2 separate regions of the Homo sapiens genome follow, and region 1 is linked to region 2. Evidence: promoter capture Hi-C in 16 types of primary human blood cells and fetal thymus (Javierre and others, 2016). All regions are on one chromosome and are shown on one strand. The core of a region is centred on a gene start or on the middle of the fragment in contact, and the rest is flanking DNA. Distances in the headings are between cores, read along the strand shown.

The links. Contacts are between HindIII fragments. The CHiCAGO score rates a contact against its expected background, and 5 or more counts as called.
Region 1: a contact is called between a fragment that was not itself captured here and the fragment with the promoter of SUV39H2 in region 2, in 6 of 17 cell types (fetal thymus, naive CD4 T cells, total CD8 T cells and 3 more). The highest score is 7.5, in fetal thymus.

Annotation. Positions count from the first base shown.
Region 1 is chr10:14,181,887-14,184,792 of GRCh38, forward strand. The region is part of intron 2 of FRMD4A (FERM domain containing 4A); the gene reads right to left. It overlaps LOC124902378 (a long non-coding RNA gene), which reads left to right and starts at 1,004. Exons shown (of 2, transcript XR_007062060.1): 1 at 1,004-1,085. The HindIII fragment of the contact is 2,649 bases long and covers 177-2,825 here.
Region 2 is chr10:14,877,060-14,880,115 of GRCh38, forward strand. SUV39H2 (SUV39H2 histone lysine methyltransferase) reads left to right here and starts at 1,807. Exons shown (of 6, transcript NM_001193424.2): 1 at 1,807-1,860. The coding sequence starts at 1,830. SUV39H2-DT (SUV39H2 divergent transcript) reads right to left here and starts at 1,600. Exons shown (of 1, transcript NR_186426.1): 1 at 1-1,600. RefSeq lists a silencer at 1,541-2,280. The HindIII fragment of the contact is 2,774 bases long and covers 592-3,056 here.

The DNA.
Region 1 (2,906 bases), core at 251-2,750, 700 kb before region 2:
TGCCATATTGACCAGGCTGGTCTTGAATTCCTGAACTTGAGTGATCTGCCCGTCTCGGCCTCCCAAAGTGCATGCTGGGATTACAGACGTGAGCCACGGTACCCGGACTACATCTTTTCTTGATATTTCTGTCAAAATGTTCAGGATTGTCACGACTTGGACAAACCACTTTCAAAAGCTTTGTTTATTTGTGGCTTTTTCTTTATAAGAGGCAACCCCAACACTACTACCAAACTGCCGTATAATTGTTTATCAAACCTAGACTGGGGAGGGGACAAAAATGATAGTGATCAATGGAGATGGGAGTTGACACAGTTTCTGCTTCTAAGACTTCTTTGAACTCTCAAGCTGTGTTTTTAAAAAGAGAGAGAGATAGGGTGCAGTAGCACATGCCTGGAATCCCAGTGCTTTCGGAGGCTCAGGCAATGAAATTGCTTGGGGCCAGTAGTTCAAGACCAGCTTGGGTAACATAAGAAGACACTGTCTCTACAAAAAATAAAAAATAATAATAATAGCCAGGCAAGGTGGCACATGCCTATAGTTTCAGCTACTTGGAGGGCTAAGGCAGGAGGAGAGTTTGAGCCCAGGAGTTTGAGGCTGCAGTGATCTCTGATCTTGCCACTGCACTCCAGCCTGGACAACAGAGCAAGAGAAGTCTGACAAGACAAAAATTTTTTTTTTCTCTAATTGGCCTATCCTTCATGGTAGGGGTGTGAAAGAGACCCCCATCATCTACCCTAAAAGTAACTCATGAACTCCTTGGTACAGGGATGTTCCTAGGTTCCTTCAAGGTGGACACATATGCTGAGAACCTCCTTTAAGGCAGGTTCGACCGGGGGCTCTGCCCTGAGGTTACCAGTGTGAAGAGTACAGGTGAAGGCTGTTGAAAAATTTAAGAACTCCAAGGATTAGAGGTAACAATCACAGAAACCTTCTGAATTCTACTGAGTGAGAACTAGCAGGAGGGTTGAACAATTCAAGTGGAAGCAAACGTTGGGAGAAGTACTCATTTCACCTGGGATTGTTGATTAGGCTGCTTCAAGGGAAATCCTATTCTTGAAGGTGGCTTTGACCATCTGGAGGAGGTTAGGATGTTGGTGCGTGGGGCTGTCGTAAGCAGGATGGGGTGGAGATGTGTAGGAGGTGAGGGAGGACTTCAGACAGAGAGACTGACCCATGCTGAAAAAGCATAGAGCTAGGCAGTAACATATTTGAAGAGAAAAACAAGAACACTGAAGTTTACAGAGTGCTGATAAGTGATCTCCAGATTATATGGTCTTAGACTCGATTTTTCTTAATTTAAAATTGAATTTACACCTCACTTTATTTGAAAAGTTATGTGTCATGCACGAATGAAATAATGTGCAGACAGAGTTCACTTTATATCATTAGTGGTGTCTTGGAAAGTTACACATTAATTTATTTAGAAATCTGCAGGAAATTCCTTTATGTTATAAAAGCTCATTCTTCTAAGTTATTCTAATTTTACAAGTTGGAATGGGCCATGCCTGCAGAGTGTTTGATGGTCCCTTTAACAGTACTGGGATTGTCTAATAATGGAATTATGTTTACAATGTGACCTTTCAAACAATAAATGTGCCTCAATGTGCATTATCTTCATAGCTCTAAGGAGTTGTTTCTTTTTTTTTTTTCAAATCACTCCTGTGTCTTAAATTTCCTTGGCCAGCTTCAACCTGAGGCACAAAGGAAAGTAATTGCTTGATTCAATTTCTCACTGTGTCAAAATAATGAAATTGATGGGCATCTTTTACTCCCAAACCTGGAAATGCACTCTATTTTGCAAATTGAATCTTAACCATGGTATCTAAATATGTTCATTAAAAGCAAAACTACTGTCTTTTAAAAATGTTCATAAACAGAGACACTCATGCCTGAGGTCATAAAGCCAAGTTGGCATTTTGATCAGGTGTGAAGAATATTTCTGTCTCAATTTTAGTAAGACATGATTTTTCTGACTCAGTACCTCAGCATAACCTAAGAAACCAAACTTTGTGAACAGTATTGACTTTAAACATCATAGTAATCATAAGAACAAAGAGAAATTATGAGATATGGAAAATAGCTCCAGAAACAAAGGCTTAATTTGAAAACTTTGCTATGGTTTCCAAGCATGTTTTTACCTGGTCATGGTTTGGAGAAAGGAGTTGGACCTTCTAAAAGTAGATCACCAAGCGCTTACATCTTAACACATTTCCTTTTTTGTTTTTCTTTTCTTTTCTTTTTTTTTTTTTTTTTTTTTTTTGAGAGAGTCTCACTCTCTGTTGCCCAGGCTGGAGCGCGGTGGTGCCATCTCGGCTCACTGCAAACTCTGCCTCCTGGGTTCAAGCGATTCTCCTGCCTCAGCCTCCAGAGTTGCTGGGATTACAGGTGCATACCACCACAACCGGTTAATTTTTTTTTTTTTTTTAGTAGAGATGGGGTTTCACCATGTTGGCCAGGCTGGTCTCGAACTCCTGACCCAAAGTGCTGGGATGGATTACAGGCGTGAGCCACTGCAACTGAACCCATTTTCTATACCCAGCTTGTTGAGTAATCTCAGTTATTTATCTAGCTTCTCTTAGCCAACTTTCTATTCTATTATGTTAAAAAAAATGGAGAAATTACTACTTCTCCAATGTTAAAAAAGGTATTTTTTGTTGTTGTTCCAATTTAAGGGAATTTGTTTGCTCAACAAAGGCTGAAGTGCTTTATACAAGGCACCGTGCCCGTCTCCTGAGGAGCCTCTGAACGTTCCCAGAAGCACACGTCCAGGCCGGGCAGAGCATGGCTTCTGTTTCTACCTCTCAGTGAAATCAATCCCCCTAAGCTTTCTTTCAAAGTAGCCCAAATGTGTGGCTCATGGGCTATAAGTCAGATATGAAAGAAGAGAAGTTTGGAGAATAAAG
Region 2 (3,056 bases), core at 557-3,056:
CCAGGACTACAGTCTCTTCTCTGAGGAACCCAGGTTGGACTGAGGAAAAGGAGCCAAAAAGGATTCAAGAGTGGCCAGTGAGTAGCGATGGCCGCTCCTTGGTGGGCTCTGAAAACATACAGGAGAGGTAATGAATACAGGGGCCGGTTAGGACGGGAGGCTGTATCCAAGTCTGAAGGCATAATCCTAGATAGACTAAGCCTTAAAGGGCCTGGATGCTCTTCCAGGTGACAGGGTTGGACAGGGCCTTTTATTCCTTATCTCAAGGTAATGAGATATGGAATACAAAATTTACTAAGGACTCAAATCTTAGAAACATGTCTGAGAAATGCAGTTGCATTGAAACACACACGGACTGCAGAACAGTATTTGTATTATGATGCCGTTTGTAGCTAAATAAAGTCTGGGAGCATGAGTGTGTGTGAGGAAGTGGTGTTTCCCATCGTAGAAAATGATTAAATATTTAAAAACGAGAAGTTAAAAAGAAAATCACTCCGAAAAGGCTATTTCGTTATTTTCCTATACATTTTTTTCTTCCATAGTTAAAACTATATTTCAGGGGGATTTGTTTTGGTTTTGCTGAATACTAAAAGCTTCATGAACACCTTTTTAAGACGGCTAGACAGTATTTCATAATGGAATCAAATAATTAACTATTCCTTTAATGGTCTGCGTTCATTTCCAGTATTTCAAATTTATACATACTGCTTTGAAACGTTTATGTAATTTTTTACATGAATTTTTTAAGGAGATATCAAATGGCCTTCTGCCAGTTTTCGTTATTTGCTCTAAGATTTCTGCTTTAGGTTGTTTAGAACAATCATGGATGCAGCGTCAAGAATGGGTGGGGGAGGGGGGTGGAGACCAGGTGGGAGGCCCCTGGAGTCGTCCTGCAGCTTCCTTACTAACGTGTCCTTCTCCTCCCGGCCCCCACCCGCCACCAGGCCGAGCTCAGGAGCTTGGCAACAACATGGGAGGGGAGCTCGGGTCCCCTTACAGACCTACCCAATCCCAATTTACATTAAAGTTGAGCCCAGGAGGTCTAGTCTGCAGTGAGCCGTAATCGCGCCACTGCACTCCAGCCTGGGTGACAGAGTGAGACCTCATCTCTTAAAAAATTCCAAGTCCAGCTCCCCCACCCCCGACGATTCGTAAGCCCCTTTAAGTGAGAAGCACTGATGTGGACCGGTGGTTTCCGCTGTGCCGCACATTAGGATCAGCTGGGAGCTGGATAGCACAGGCCACACCCCACACCAACCAGTCGGAATCCCGGCGACTGCCCCAAGCCAGCGGAACCTCTCCAGCCATGCCCACGTGCAGCCGCTTCCGAAGCCCGGAGCTCTAGAGGGAGCGGTGTCGGGGGGAGACTAACCATGGCCCACGGGGCTGCGGTAGCTGCGGAACCGTACCCGACAGGCAGCGTCCCCGGCTCCCTAGGTCCCCGCTGCCCGTGTCGGATCTCGCAGTGTGCGAGTGCTGCCGAAGTAAGACGTCTCCAAAGCGCAAAGTCCTGGCCGACGTCTTCCCGAGTGAAGGCGCCAAACGGGCCTGGCGAAGGGAAGGGGGCGCCGGACACTGCCGAGGATCCGGGAGCACGCGCGCTCGCCCCGCCCCGCTCCTCGCGCTTGGGGCCGGGCCTAGCTTTGGGGCGCAGGCGCGCTGGCCGCCGCGGCGGGGGGTCGGCCGCCAGTGACGTCAGGACGCCGTGCGGGTTCCGTCCCCCAACAAGCCCCGGCCCCCAAGTCCCGCGCGGGCCGGCCAGGGGCGGGGCGTCGGGCCAGCTGAGCTATCCCGTCAGACCGCGCCAGTTTGAATGAAAGCTCTACAAGATGGCGGCGGTCGGGGCCGAGGCGCGAGGAGGTGAGGCTGGAGCGCGGCCCCCTCGCCTTCCCTGTTCCCAGGCAAGCTCCCAAGGCCCGGGCGGCGGGGCCGTCCCGCGGGCCAGCCAGATGGCGACGTGGCGGTTCCCCGCCCGCCGCGACCCCAACTCCGGGACGCACGCTGCGGACGCCTATCCTCCCCCAGGCCGCTGACCCGCCTCCCTGCCCGGCCGGCTCCCGCCGCGGAGGTGGGCACTGTCCGAGCCTGGGGCACTTCGGAAGTGGAGCGTGGCCTCTCCGCCCGCTCGGCCCGGCCCCCTCCGCGTCTCCCGTGGCGGCCTCGGGCTTCGAGGCCGCTCCCCGGCAGTCCCCGGTTGGAGGTCCGGGGGGCACGGCTGCGACTGGCTCCTTTGTGGTGGTTCGAGCGCGGCGTGCGGCATGCGCCCGGGCCTTTGAAGTGGGAGGCGGGAAGCGACGCCCGCCGGCGTGAACATGACCTTAATATCAGAGGGGGAGAGTAAATCGGGGCGCCTGTGTGCTAAGAAAGGGGATAAGCGAGGAATCCCCCCCAAGGCGGACACGCTAGGAGGTTGAGTGCCTCGTTGGAGAATCGCCCAGAAAGTGGGTATTTGAGGTTGCAGCCTCTGGCTTACGGTAACTCTTTCACCCACCGGGAGCTTGGTGTTATTTCTGTGGACGCTGGGGAATTGGGCACCGGGGAACTGGGCACCGAGCGCGCGTGGGTGTGGGCGTCGGGGGGTGTTGGTGTCGCGCACGCTTTGAGAGCCTGGAACTTTTCCGTGCGTTCCGGAATGTAAAGGTGTTTTCAAGCTCGTCTCCTCTCCGCTGGGATTATGACCTCATTATCCCTGAATTTTTCTCCTTGGAGAATGTCAGGGGTTACTGTGAACCAGCGGAAGGTGTTTGTGGTGGTCATGAACTATTTAATTTTGTCAGTGAAATCTTTTTCTGCATTACTGGAGACTGTCGAGAGATTGTCTTTCTTTTTTTAACCACGTGTTTGCAGTTTTTCATGTTCACTTTTTTTTTTTTTTTAATTTTCAAAGAGCATTTCCTTTGCGGGTTGTGTTTTGAATCCTCAACTAGATAAAAATGTTTAGGAAAAGCACACAAACACACCTTGAGTAGATAAGAGGAACCTCCTTTATACGTGATTCCCTTAATGAGGTCAGCTTAACACAAAACGTTCTCTAGTTTTTGTAGATGGAAGGGACT